2 separate regions of the Homo sapiens genome follow, and region 1 is linked to region 2. The links are contacts of gene promoters, found by promoter capture Hi-C in human tissues and cell types (Jung and others, 2019). All regions are on one chromosome and are shown on one strand. Each heading gives the region's core, a stretch centred on a gene start or on the middle of the fragment in contact. The rest is flanking DNA. Distances are from core to core; before and after follow the strand shown.

Region 1 (7,446 bases), core at 672-3,171, 380 kb before region 2:
TAAGTGTCAAAGGTGGGGAATTTGGATTTCATGCTTTAGCAGTGGGGAACCAACAGGAGTTTGTGCACAGTGTAATAGCTTGACTGGATCTCTTTTGTTTTTGTTTTTAGGCAAATAAGGCACTGTGGAGGCTGGGTTAGAGTAGAGAAAGAACTAGAAATAGGAATACACCTCCGCAGAAGTTGGCTGTAATTGTTTGGTGAGCGTTGAGGGGGAGGGTAATGGTCATAGGGACAGAGAATAGAGGATGGAGGATTGAAATTTTCTGATGTGGAATTGACTAGATTTGTGACCAGTTATGTGTAGAAAGGTCACTTCTGTCTTTCTCCGTGAACCATGCATTTGAGCACCATGCTGCTAGCACAGGGTTTGGAGTCTGATCCTATCCATTGCTTTGTTTTTTTTTTTTTTTTTTTTTTTTTTTTTTTTTTGACTGGATCTCTATAACACCAAAAAAGTGAGGAACAAAGTGGAAAATCAAGGACAGTTATATCTTTGTTTTGAAATGATCTCAGCTAATGGAACTGATTGGCTTTTCCTCCATTGAATCACTCAGTTGTTTTGACATCAGTGCTGTAGTCGTAGCTTTAACCTGGGGAGGAAGCCGTGGTGCAGTCTTGTTTTGAATGTGAGCTTCAGAACAGGACAGGACTGGGAGATTTTGACTGTCCTTTGCTAGCTCTACTTCCTCAGGCAAGTTATTTAAACCTGAAGACCCTCAATTTCTTCATCTAATGGTGAGAGTAGTGATAACTTACCCCAAAACTAGGTAATTGAGAGTGCTGAAGGAGCTGACTCCATAAAGTGCTTATCTCAATGTTTGGCCTATGGTGAGCTCTCCATAAATAACCATACACACTATTATTACTATATTCTTCAGAAGACAAAGGGCCATGTTTAGCTTGGGACTTAATTGAAAGGTTAATTTTCAGGCATTAAAAGAAGAAAATGTGTTCCTTGCCCAGCAAGGGTCGTGGATAGTATTCGGGCAAAGCTCTCCTGAATCCAAGTGTCCAGGCCCTCTGGGTAACTTGGTCTCTGTCCATGTGGCGAAGCCTCCTGGGTCAGTCATTGCTTCCTTCCCACTTGCCTTCCTCTCACCTCCTGAACAGGTGAAGAATCCAAACACTGCCATGGCTCCTGTACCTTCTGATTAAACTCTGTTTGCAAACTGGTTTAACAGCTGAAGGTATCTCGCTCATTTAAAGGCATGCTCACAGGTATGGGTGGTATTTAAGCAGGATATATTGGATTCTTTCAGAAACAAGGGGCCCTGCTGAGCTGCAGCCAAATGCTCATTAATTGTATTTTGTGTCAAGATCAATTGCTCTGGAAAGGTAAATGTATCTTGAGAGTAGGAGAGTTCTAGCAAATCTTACTAAGAGTATCAGAGTTCATGTCTCAGTGAAATGCTTTGAATGTGTCAAGTTTAAAAACAGGAGCAGTGATTTTAAGATTCCTTTAAGCCCTAAGAAAATTATTTCCTTCCAGTTTTATCAACATAGTGAGATAAAATTCTGTTTTTGTTCCAGGAAGCCCAAAAGAAAGATACCATTCTTCTAAACTTTTCAGAAAAATTGCATCATGTTCAGAAGACTGCTAGGTGAGCAAGTGAATTGTGAGAATTCAAGATTCTTTACCTTTTTATGAAAACTGATAAATAGTTAAAACTTTTAGATTCCAGTTTGAAGTCTAAAAGGTTTTGTTTCATTGAACTTTCAGACTGTCCTTCATTTGCTTAACACAGGTGTGTGTGCACCTTTGGAATTTGGGGGTTTTGAAAAATTAATCTTTATTTGTAAACTAAAGAAACTATTTCAGTCTATTCTAATGAATATCATCAGTATAAAAAATATGGATTAATAATTTCAAATCCCTCCACGCCCAAGAGATAGAGCTTAAACAGCACCACCTATTTCCTTGGGAGTTGGTATATATCAATCAAACTTTCATGGCCACATTTCACTGTTTCCTTGTAGAATCTAACATGGTACATTTATTTTCCTTTGCATTAAAAGAGTTTGTAACCGTACCAAGAGCTGTGAAATGATTTTACTTTAAATTAGTCACTCACAGAGAAAGGCACATACAGAGAAAGTATCTGCCAAACATAAGGCTCTAATTACATCACTCTAATTTGCTTCTGATCCTAATGTAGATATGTATCTTAATGTAGCTAGACTCTGTGTGTATATACTATTTTGACTTTTGTATATGTGTTTTAAAATTTATATTACATCCACACATCCCACGGTAAATGTTCAATAACCAGCTGTTGGAGAAAAAAGTCCTGATTTGTAGCATTTGCTGATTTCCGTGTTGTAAATACCGTAACCATGGCTGATGTCAAGCTGCTGACATACATTACTGAATGCAAATTAGGAAGAGACACCCACAGTTGGTTCTCATGAGCAGGTTCAGCCACCGCTCATGTGTCAAGCCAGTTCCTAGCATATACTTACTGAGTGTATCCAACTATGACATCTGTGAACCATATGCATATAAATAAATGAACCATAGCTCACAGCCCTGCCACTGGCCTGTACCTCAAAAGTTACTGATTCTATGAATATCTAGCCACAGATTACATGTCTTTCCCAAAGTGGGATTATCAGTTCAGAGGTGTAAACAGTTTATAATTCATGTTTACAGATCTCTAGATTGTTCTCTAAAAAGAATGGACATCTTATAAGATAGGAACTTTTGACTTACTGAAAGAAATTTGTGTGGGAACATTTTTACTGTAATTAGTATAAAAATATTCCTAAGAGATATATAGATAGAAATTAGCATTATATTTTTGAAATGGCGTTTCTGGTCAGAGCTGGATTGGAGCTAGATATTGTCTTAGAAAAATCCTATTCAGCAAGCTTGTTTATTTGAAATGGAAGGTGAAATACACTTGGGAAATACAAACAGGTCTCAGATATGTGCCGGTGACCAGTGAAGGTGGAAAACTTTATTGCACAAAGAAACATTTGAATTGACAATGGAAGCATGAATGCATCCTAATTTATGAATTTCACATGCATTTTAGGTTTCGCCTACTCAGTTTTCTGGGTAACAAAACCATCATTCACATTCTGCCTATCTTTTGTTTTTTTTGAGATAGAGCCTCGCTGTGTCACCCAGGCTGGAGTTCAGTGGTGCAATCTTGGCTCATTGTAATCTCTGCCTCCTGGGTTCAAGTGATTCTCCTGCATCGGCCTCCCAAGTAGCTGGGACTACAGGCACCCGCCACCATGCCCAGTTAATTTTTTTGTATTTTTAGTAGAGACAGGGTTTCACCATACTGGCCAGGCTGGTCTCGAACTTCTGACCTTAGGTGATCTGCCCGCCCCACCCTCTCAAAGTGCTGGGATTACAGGCCTGAGCTACCATGCCAGGCCCACATTCTGCCTATCTTGATTTGATGTATATAACAAAAGCATTGCAATCAATCCAACTGTTAATTTGCAGAATTAGGGCTGGCTGTGGTGGCTCATGCCTGTGATCCCAGCACTTTGGGAGGCCAAGGCAGGAAGACTGCTTGAGACCAGTAGTTTGAGACCAGTCTGGGCAACATAGTAAGACCCTGTCTCTACAAAAAATTTAAAAATTAGCTGGGTGTGGTGGCGCACACCTGTGATCCCAATTACTTGGAAGGCTGTGGTGAGAGGATCACCTGAGCCCAGGAGGTCAGTGCTGCAGTGAGCCATGATCTTGCCACTGCTCTTCAGCTTGGGCAACAGAGTGAGACTGTCTCTTTAAATAATAATAATAATAAAAATCAGCTGGGCCTGGTGGCTCACACCTGTAATCCTAGCACTTTGGGAGGCTGAGGTGGGCAGATCATTTGAGCTCAGGGGTTCTAGACCAGCCTGGCCAACATGGCGAAACCCCGTCTCCACTAAAAATACAAAAATTAAGCTGGGCATGATGGCACATGCCTATAATCCCAACTACTCTGGAGGCTGAGGCATGAGAATTGCTTGAACCCAGGAGGCAGAGGTTGCAGTGAGCCAAGATCAGGCCACTGCAATCCAGCCTGAGTGACAGAGGGAGATTGTGTCTCAAAAAAAAAAAAGTTGCACATTTGTTAGCTATGTTTTAGTTCTCTGTAAAATATAGAAAGCCTGCTCTGGCCACCTGTGGAATCTGCTATTTTCATGGAATCTGCTATTTTCTCACTGTTACCCTTAGTGTTAGAATTATCAACATATATTGCCTTGCTTCTTGTGGGTTAGAGTTTCCTATTTGTGTTTAGTGGCCCATGGAAAGCATATGAATCCCGGAAGCCGCTGGCATTTAGTTTGTAATGCTTATTGCATAAAGGTGTTCAGAGCTAGTTTATGAAAACGTTTGCAGATCCCATGGTTTTGTTTATCTTACCATCAAGAGTACAGTTACAACCTGCTCTCTTTGAACCAGTATATGTCTTTAGAAACGAATCACTTCTTAAAACAGGAGGAAACACAAAAGATCTAAATACAGGGGTAGATAAATATCATCACAGTAGCTCTCCCCTTCTGTTTCCAAGGTTGAACAACAGTTAGTCTTATTTAATATACCTACATGACACATGGCTTCCTTGTTCCAACTGCCCACTCTCCCCTTTCTTCTTTTAGATTATCTCTGGAGAACACGGAGGCAGAACTGCACTTGCTGTTTGTCAGGACAAAATCACTAAAAGAAAACATCCAGCGGGATGGTGAACTTTGTCAGCAGATGGAAGATTTTCTTCAGGTTTGTAGGTGACTCAAGTCAGTCCCTCTAATCTCATCTCCCAGCAGCACCCCGGGGCTGGTTAAATTTGCATGGGTGTATTTGTGGAAGCAGCAGTTCCCATTCATATTTTTTTTCTCCAAGTTAGTCAGAGGAACTTGGTATTTCCATGCCCATTCTTTGCAGAGGATGTTAAATGTGATCTAAGCCTGATATATTTTTTTTTTTTGTCTCTTCGTTTGTTTGACTTGTTTGTTTGTTTGTCTTGAGAGGGAGTCTTGCTCTGTCACCCAGGCTGGAGTATAATGGTGCGATCTCGGCAAACTGCAACCTCCGCCTCCCTAGTTCAAGCAATTCTCCTGCCTCAGCCTCCCGAGTAGCTGGGGGCTACAGGCATGCACCACCACACCTGGCTAATTTTTGTATTTTTTCAGTAGAGACGCGGTTTTGCCATGTTGGCCAGGCTGCTCTCAAACTCCCGACCTCAGGTGATCCGCACTCACTGGGCCTCCCAAAGTGCTGGGATTACAGGTGTGAGCCACCGCGCCCAGCCCAAGCCTGATGTATTTGTTTAGGGACAGTGCTTCTGCGAGGCTCCTGTTGTTCACTGCTCAGTTTGCACGATTGCAGTTTACTGTGGTGAACTGGTATCAGCCATGGAGTTGCACTTGGGCTATACCTGGCAACTCAAGTTTTGTTTCTAAACCAGTTAAACTTTCGGATAACAGAACAAAGTTCCACAGAAATCAAGATGCCTTAGAACTTGGGCTGTCATTTCTTCACTTGTTTATGTTGAAGAAACAAGCTGCGTTTTGGCATGTTTTATAATGAGAGCAGCAGAACACATGAGAGCTGTGCCCGTCAACACCAGGAGTACGCAGGGCCCACAGGGTGTGTCGGGAGCTGCTCCAAATAACATCAACAAAAAACAGCAGAGTGGACATGTTTGTGACAGCTCACTGTGACTCACTAATCGCATAGTCTGACATACTTCTTTTATCTTCCTTATTAAAAAAAAAAAAAAAGGCACCATCTCATGCTTTTAGTCTTCAGCGAAAGGCTATGCTACCTGAAGTGTTGTTAGTGTTTTGAGACCTGTGAGGTGGAATCATGTAGCAGGGCTGCCCTTGGCACTGGGGAGGAACAGTGTGCTCCTGAGGTTGTGCCAGCTGAAGCCTTCGCTTCTTAATTCAGCTCCTTCAAAATATTATGGCCTTCGGCGGATGCTTGATTTTGTTTGGCTCTGCTGTGAGTTTATTTTTATTATTAAACATGTGCTCTGTATTTTCCTTCAAGTAAAACCAAACTAATTTTCTTGTTACAAACACCACCACCAATACCACAAAAATACTGAACAGTAAACGAATGCATTAAACAAATCCGGAAAATCAAGAATAAGGACCATTGCACATCAAGACTAAAATTCTGGATGTTTCATTCCTCCAAGTTCTCATATTAACTATTACCATCTCAGTCAATATTCACACAGAGAAGCTTAGGATGAAGAACAGCTCTGACTTAGCCTCACCTCTGGACTGCTTTTCATAGTCAGTCTTGTTTTAACCCTTTACACTTCTTTCTGGCAGTCGTTTTTTTTTTTTTTTTTTTCCCGAGACAGAGTCTCACCCTGTCACCCAGGCTGGAGTGCAGTGGCACGATCTCGGCTCACTGCAACCTCCACCTCCTGGGTTCAGGTGAGTCTCCTCCCTCAGCCTCCTGAGCAGCTGAGACTACAGGCGCATGTCACCACACCAGGCTAATTTTTTGTATTTTTAGTAGCGATGGGGTTTCACCGTGTTAGCCAGGATGGTCTCAATCTCCTGACCTCGTGATCCGCCCACCTCCCAAAGTGCTGGGATTGTAGGCATGAGCCACTGCGCCAACCCAGTCATTTTTATCTCTATAAGTAAAACGTTTCATACAGCTGCATACTTTTCTTTCTTAAATTCAACTTCCTTTTGAATAGGTGAGATAAAATTTTTCGAGGTAGGTCAGGGTCAGGGCACTCAGGTCTCTGAACACCAGTCTGAATGCTGGACTCAAACTCTATGCCATAAGAAGTGGGGAACTCTTCAAGGATTCAGAGCAGAAAAATAACAGGAACACATTTTTGCAGATCTATTTCAGCATTTTCACCCTTGGGGTAAGAAATACTGAGTAAACTTGTTTGAAACTTCAGTGTGTAGCAGGCAAGTTAGAGATGTAAGGTTGACTTGGACACTACAGCTGCTAACCTGTTGACATTCTTGCTTTGCCAGTGTAGCTTTGAACTTTTCCATTTCTGGCCCTAATCATGTAGAACTCCTGCCCGGTAACTTCAAGTGTGGTTACTGTTCAGATCCACATTCAGAATGTTTCATTTTCCCAAGTCCAAAGGGTGACTTCAGTGTGTTTAAGATTTTCCTTCCTGGTACTCTGTCAATCCCCACAGGATCTAGAGATGAAACATACGAGGTGGAGCTGAGCTCCCATGTAGATTCTTGTCAAGAGGCCTATTTTTCTGCAGTTGAGCTGTTCTTGGCTGGAATCCATCTTTCCCCCTGTGGAAGAATGACAGGCAAAGATTTATCCTTTCATTAATACCATTCCTCCATAAAGAAAAATACAGCATGAATGCACACACTGCCTTGGGCTACTGACTCAGGTGGTTACTTTCTCTGGTATTTGGTTTCCTACATAGTTTTCGTTTCTTACTACCTCTTGAGTGTGTTTGGTTTAAGAGAAGGGCTTTTAAGGGGGAAA
Region 2 (7,266 bases), core at 2,759-5,258:
ATATTTACTGAGTGTAGAATGTTCAGGTACTATGCTAGTCTCACTAGGGAATAGCAGTAAACAAAAAAAGCTCCTCTTCTCACAGACTTTCATTTTACTGGGATGAAACAAATAACTGAATACATATAGAGCTAGCTACATAATTACAGAGCCTGGTGCAAAATGAAAATGCAAGGCCCCTTGTTCAAGAAGTATGAAAAAGACATTTTCCTTTCTTCTGTGGTGTCTCCACCAGTCACAGTGTTTTTTATTTGCTACTTAATGTTATACTCTCTTGGCCATAGGGATACTTGCTGGGTGAGTGTAGACCCACAGGCACCTGGAGTCACCCTGGAACTCAGACTCCCCCCAGGCTTGTGCTAAAAGAGGGCACCAGAACATGAGTTGTTCAGGGAATAACAAATAGTCTGATATGGCAAGACCACAGAATTTCTCAAGAAGAAATTACTGATGAGGCACCGTTATAAAGAGTATGTTACTGTGCCTGTTCTTAAGGAGTTTACATTCCAGATGGAAAGATTAAAAGAATAACTATAAAACAGGGAAAATTAAAGAGCCATGGAGAAGGGTTAATAAAGTATAATGGAAGTTCCATGTTATCACATAGCTGATGGGGACAATCCTCTTTATGCCTGTGTCCTAGCATAAATAGGAATAGCATTCCCTTCTGTTCTCAGAAGTGTCTCAGTTCGGATGATAAATTATATATTCACTAGACATCAGTCTTTCTCAACCTTTTTTCTCATTACCATTCCCATAAAGAACCTTTTTAGATGTTTTTTCCCTGTTCACAATGCCATCCCCAGTCCCATGAAATTTTAATACCAGAGATATACTGTACATCTGTTTATGTACTGAGAGCCACAAACCACTGGAGCACAAACCATCTAAGATCTTTTTGTCTCCCAGGAACCCATTTTGATGTCATCCCATTGAGAATGACGCCCTACCCAAATGACATGATTGCATTGTCATTTCTAACTCAGAAGCTGTGTTGTGACTGACAGGTTGATAATGTTTACTATTTCTTCCTTAAAATTTTGTTAAATAAGCAGGCGGCCATTGGCTTGAAGCTGTCTCCACACTTTGAGTTCCTACCTAAGGAATTGTAAGGAACTGCAACCTAACGTGGTACACAAACTGAAAACCAAGCATGGTGTGTAACAAACCCCCAATTCTCAGCCAATCACAAGTAGCTGAGCTTCAGCCCACAGGCTGCCGACAGTGGCCAAATAATTCAAACAAGGAGCTGTAATCAGTCAAGCTATTTCTGTAACTCACTTCCCTTTTCTGTCTATAAAAACTTCCTGTTGGCTAGGCATGACTCACACCTGTAATCCCAATACTTTGGGAGGCTAAGGCAGGAAGATTGCTTGAATCCAGGCGTTCTAGACCAGCCTAGGCAACATAGGGAGACACCATCTCTATGGAAAATTTTTAAAAAATTAGCCAGGCATAGTTATGCACATCTGTAGTCCCAACTACTTGGGAGGGCAAGGCAGGAGAATCCCTCGAGCCCTGGAGTTCTAGATTGCAGTGAACCATGATTGTGCCACTGCACTCCAGCCTGGGTGACAGAGTGAAACCCTGTCTCAAAAAAACAAAACAACAACAACAAAAAACCTCTCTGGCCACGTTGCCGAGAGGAACTCATTTGTCTAAAGTTTTTCTTTTAAAATTTTCTCCTCTCTTGGTTTTGCATTCTCCTACTTCTTTTCCTACATTGCAGACTTTTTCCTCAGTCTCTTCCAAGTGACTTGACTTTGTTTTCCTATTTCCTTTATAAGCTCCTCCTGCCAGGCACGGTGGCTCACGCCTGTAATCCTAGCACTTTAGGAGGCCAAGGCGGATGGGTCGCCTGAGACTGGGAGATCGAGACCAGCCTGGCCAACATGGTAAAACCCCATCTCTACTAAAAATACAAAGATTAGCCGGGGGTGGTGGTGGGCGCCTATAATCCCAGCTACTCAGGAGGCTGAGGCAAGAGAATCGCTTGAACCTAGGGGTTGGAGGTTGCAGTGAGCCAAAATCATGCCACTTCACTCCAGGCTGGGCAAAAGAGCGAAACCCCAACTCTAAATAAATAAATAAGCTGCTCCTATAGGTCATGCTTTTCAGAATGTCAAGGAAGGGGCATCAGAAGGTTATCTGAAGTTTAAGGTATTTGTACTGAAAATGCAAAGGAACCAGAGGCAGTAGAATGTGTCTTCTTTCCTAGGTGGCGGTGATTCCCAGGTCTGGTTGATCAAGACTGCAATGCACAACAGGAACCTCAGAGAACTGTCACAGCAGCTCTCAGTGACACTTAGGATACAGATGCAGCTTAAGTGACCCTTTTTTATATCCATTTAGCACTCATTTTTCCCAAAAGAAGACCTGTTTGGGTCAATTTGTTACTGTCCCAGGGCAGGCTTTTGCACTGTGTCGCTTTAGAGGCAGGGGCGGAGGAAAACTTGGGACTGTAACATCAGTACTGCACAAAGCCCTCTTCCGTATACAGCATAAGCACTATTCTATAAAATCCCCAGCAAGCCTTTGTTTCCTTGCAGTCAGCTCCTTTTCTGCTGATTCTGCCCATTGCTCCCTTGCAACGTATTTTCATGCTTTCTCTAATGATTCTGCCTTTCTTTACTTACAACTGCCTTGGTAAATTTTTCTGCCACAGCGCCACTGGCCTCAGATAGTCACCACTCACCTGCAACAAGCCTGAGAGCCAATTAAGACAAGGCTTTCCCCAAGTAGCACAAATGTATATACCACTACTGTAGTTACTTAATGTACTCATTTATCATTTTAAAATTACCTTATGTACCATCAGTTACATGGTATAACTCTTACAGGAAAAACCAAATTAATGGAACTCTGCAATTCAATGTACCCCTTCCTCTGCCTCCAGCAGAAGCAACAGGGGACATAAATTCCAACTTTAGATGCTACTCTTATAGCATCTACAAGACTTACTACACTGTGTGTGTGTGTGTGTGTGTGTGTGCGTGCGTGTGTGTGTGTTACAGAGTCTCACTCTGTCGCCCAGGCTGGAGTGCAGTGGCGGGGTCTTGGCTCACTGCAACCTCTGCCTCCTGGGTCCAAGCGATTCTCCTGCCTCAGCCTCCCGAGTAGCTGGGATTGTACAGGCGTCCGCCACCACGCCTGGCTAATTTTTGTATTTTTATTAGAGATGGGATTTCACCATGTTGGCCAGGCTGGTCTCAAACTCCCTACCTCAAGTGATTTGCCCGCCTCGGCCTCCCAAATTGCTGGGATTACAGGTGTGAGCCACAGCGCCCAACCGTACTTCTTACACCTAAAAATGGTTCAAAACACCATAGAATAATTTTCAAAATAATTGAATTCTGAGTTAAAATTTTTCAGCACTTTCAGGGGCCTGAGCTTTTGCTATGAATCTGGATCTATTCTCAAGCCATGAAGTAGCGTATTTTTGACCATGTTGATTTGAAATTCATTCCGTTGTTTCCTTCTTTTTTAAAACCTAAGGGAAAAACAAACAGACATACACAGGATTTGAAAAGCTGGAAAGCAGTGGGTAGCGGCTCGGGAGAAGATGAGGGGTCAGATTAGAAGACGAGAAAGGAATCCAGTCCGCCCCAGACAGGACAAGTCCGGAAGGATGGAGGCAGCGTTTCCTTCCTCAACAGCCTAAACGCCTCTATTTTTTACATCCAAACTTAGGCCATATTTCTGCGGCGCCAAGAAAACGCAGTAAAAGCAAAGGCAAGATGTCCTTAAAAAAAAAAAAGGTCACATTCACAGAATACCGAGGAGACGGAGGCAGCTCTGCAACCCGTCCACTGAGACGCGGACACGCTCCCCACAGCCCCGGCCCCAGGCCCGCGCCCCTTCCCCCGCCGGCGGCTCGGATGGGTCGCTAGGGGTCGCTGCGCGCCGCGCGGGCGAGGACCGGCCTCTTTCCCCCACCTCCACCGTCTCGCTGCTCCGCCCCCGCGGCGTAGTCGGCGCCAAAATCAAACGCGTCCTGGCCTGTCCCGCCCCTCTCCCCAAGCGCGGGCCCGGCCAGCGGAAGCCCCTGCGCCCGCGCCATGGTAAGGACTGAGGCTACGGTCCCGCGTCTTCTTCCTCCCTAGTGTGTGGGCTTCGCCGCCCCTCGGCTGCATGTGGATCCCGGCCTGGCGTTGACCGCCATTCCGGGCCGCGGGAGCGGTCGCCCGGCTCTCGGCCTCACCGTGTAGGGGCCCAGCCCGGCCCCGCCGCAGCCACTCCGCACTCTGCGGCGTTCCCCGCCGCTCCTGTCCGGAGTCCCGAGGCGCGGGGGCATCCGCGGCCTCCCCGCCGGCTGCACCCCGCGTCTGTCCCCAGGGCCCGTTCGGGCGGGTTAGGTTAGAACGCGGGAAGCGTTCGCGAACGTGACCCGAGAACTTCACCAACCTGGATTTATCTAAAAGACCACGGGGCCCTTGAGAACCTGGGCTCCCTACGCCTCCAGCTTCGGCCCCGCGTGGTGTAGCCCCCCCCATTAAGAACGGGGAGAGAAAGCGCAAGTGGGCGGGAGGGACTGCGGGGAGCGAACGTCTTGATCCCAAAGCGCACTCCTGGTTTGTCACCATTGAGTGGTTTTCTGTATTGTAATATGTAGAGCACATTCCAGAACTGCTCAGTTTCGAGTTACCTAATGGATCTTCACTGTGTGCCAATTAGTCGATTTCTGTGAAAACGCCCCGGTTTCTGCCAAAGGGCAGGAGTCGCTGCTCTTGTGCCGGGTGCTGCTGGTTGTGTAGGGCGCTGTTGCTTTTTTAAGGACGCTCTGCACTGAATTAGGCTTCCTCGTGGGTCATGATCAGTTAAGTCCTGGTAAGATCGGCTTTGTGAGCTTAACGTCTTTCTGCTCATCAAATCATTTTCATAAACCTTCAAAGTTTCATGCCGTTTTTTCTGCTTCAGTTGGCGAAGAATCAACATCTGGTTAAATGGATCTAAGATTTTAATATCTTCATTTACTTACGTGGCCGTTAAATGTTGCCGAGCTAAGGGGGGCAGGGTGGGACACCAGGATCCAGTTGTATGGTATTTATTTGAAGATATTTGTCCAGATGTAGTTATAAATGATAACGGCTTCTTTGTGGTTAAACTAACAACCCAGCCACCTGGGCGTGAAGTGCTCTAAGGAGCCAAACAGGACTACAGTTAAAACAAATCTGTTAGCAGTGCCCTTCTGTGTTACAATTTTTCTCTGCAGAGTTGCTGGCCTCGTATAACTGACTTGGAGAACTGTGCAGCTCAAACGCGCGTTGTCCTTTTACCTAATCTATCTCTCTACACATGAATCACCTGCTAATACTAAATGTGTTAACTCTTTAGAAGCTTACCTCCGATAATAGAGAATCCTTTTAAAAAATTAAAGCTTTTGATAAGATGTGGACTTCCTATTTTTTAATATGTGATCGAGAAATAAATTTAGTGTTGGTCAAAGGTAAACTTTTGATTGATTATGAATTAATAGCTGTTTTCATTTGGTTAGGCATCCTAAGTAAATAGTTAATGAGTTCAGGCAATTTTTGAAATTGGAGAAGTGCAGTGCTGAACTCTGAGAGCAGCAGTGATGTCTACTTAATAATTCTTCATAATTTTATCGTAATTGATTAGTAGGGCTGGCTGTAGGAATTCCATAACTTCTAACTGAGAAGGTTCCTCAGATAACATGATTTTTTAAGTGGTTTAAAATACTTCCAGAAAGCTTCATAGTCCTTGAGTCAGGTTTTGAGTCTCCTGACTTACTAATTTGAATGCATCTCTAACTTATACTATCAGGTTTTTCCTAGTCTTAATTAAATATTAGATAAATCCTCATTGATTTTTTTGAGAAGTTTCTAAATATGAGTATTAATATGGCATCTTTTTACATTAGTTATTTTAATTCTGGCTATGATACTCCTACTGTGGTTAATAATAGAAATTATTTCTAGTCATGAAAGAGACTGATGAATAAATCAGCCTGAAAACAAGGTAAATGGATGATACAGCTCATCCACATTTCTTGAGTAACTTTCATAGCTGCTGAGCTGAGTGTTGAGAGCTTTCCTAAAACTGGGTACCCCAGGACGCTAGATTCTCCTCATTGCCTGCCTCTGGGGGGCAGATTCTTGTGGAGTGCAAGGAGCTGTTTCGAATATCAAAATGTTAGGAGTCTTTCCTAACACTTCAGGATCTGCTTTCTGCTAGTGCAGCGACACACTGAAATTCTAAAGGGATTCCCATTGCCCCGCAGCGCCCTTGACATGGCCTTCAGATTCTGGGCTGACAAAAGTAGGGTTCTCAACCCTGGGGCACAATTAAAAAATATGTTGGAGAGGATTTTTAAAATAAGTTGGAGGATTTAAAAAATATGTTGCCCAGGTCCCATTCCAGAGATTTTGATTCCATTCATTAGAGATGAGCCTGGGCATCGGTATTTTTTAAAAACTCCTGAGGTGATTCTAATGTATGGCAGTTTAGGACCTATTGGACTAGAAAAATATGTTGAAGGAGTCTTCTAACTGTTATGAATTTCATGCTTGATTTGTCAGATACTGCAGAGGTGAGAATGAAGGGAGGCAAATAGAGCAGTCCTGGACCCTAGCTCTCAGCCCTAGGTTTAGTGAGCAGATCTGTATGGGTTCCTGGAGTTTGCCTAACTGAGATTTCTCTGATTTGTCTCTTCAAGCCAGGCAATACATGATGTCACTGAATTCACTATGATTAATTCACCTGTTATATCTATGGGAGTATGGTAGGTGTTGGGGGGCTTAGGAGCCTGAGCAGCCTCAAATTTTAGAGTTGGGGGCTTTAGATACATGGTCCTAAAATTAAGAGCTTTATGTCTCCCTTGTCTAACTTGGCACTAAGCCCTGGAAAGGCAAAGGCAGTTCATGTTCTGAAGAAGTTTTTCAGTGTGCTGATACGGACAAGTAAACATCTTTTCAATGTAGTGAGTGATTTGATGAAGGTGTGTTCTGGGAATACATGCTTAGCCTGTGAACTCAGGGAAGTTCTGGAGGGAGAGTGCCTAAACTAAGCCTTGGGAGATGTTTTGGAGTTTTGACTAGGCAAGAAGTGAGGATGTTCTAGGTGGAGGAACATTTTTTTTAAGGATGGAAATGAGAGCATTCTTCGAGTAGATAATTACAGGCAGTTTTTGTATTACAAGTTGCTTAGGTCTCCATACTGTTAATGGCAAAGTTTGAGGTGGGGTGTGGTGGAAGAGGCTATAAAAGGTAGGTTGGGGTTAGGTGATAAAGGGCCTTGTATATCATA

The links. The method cuts DNA at HindIII sites, captures the fragments that hold promoters and counts their contacts. A contact is called where the count stands out against the background at its distance.
Region 1: a contact is called between a fragment that was not itself captured here and the fragment with the promoter of MND1 in region 2, in 1 of the 25 tissues and cell types used here (heart left ventricle).

What each region holds. Positions count from the first base shown.
Region 1 is chr4:152,963,373-152,970,818 of GRCh38, forward strand. FHDC1 (FH2 domain containing 1) reads left to right here. Exons shown (of 12, transcript NM_001371116.1): 9 at 1,533-1,603; 10 at 4,608-4,725. Among named protein-coding and RNA genes, the nearest start is that of FHDC1, 31 kb to the left of the region's middle. The HindIII fragment of the contact is 5,225 bases long and covers 1-4,534 here.
Region 2 is chr4:153,340,680-153,347,945 of GRCh38, forward strand. MND1 (meiotic nuclear divisions 1) reads left to right here and starts at 4,009. Exons shown (of 8, transcript NM_032117.4): 1 at 4,009-4,061. The coding sequence starts at 4,059. RefSeq lists silencers at 3,778-4,087, 4,218-4,377 and enhancers at 4,858-4,917, 4,998-5,117. The HindIII fragment of the contact is 8,470 bases long and covers 1-5,543 here.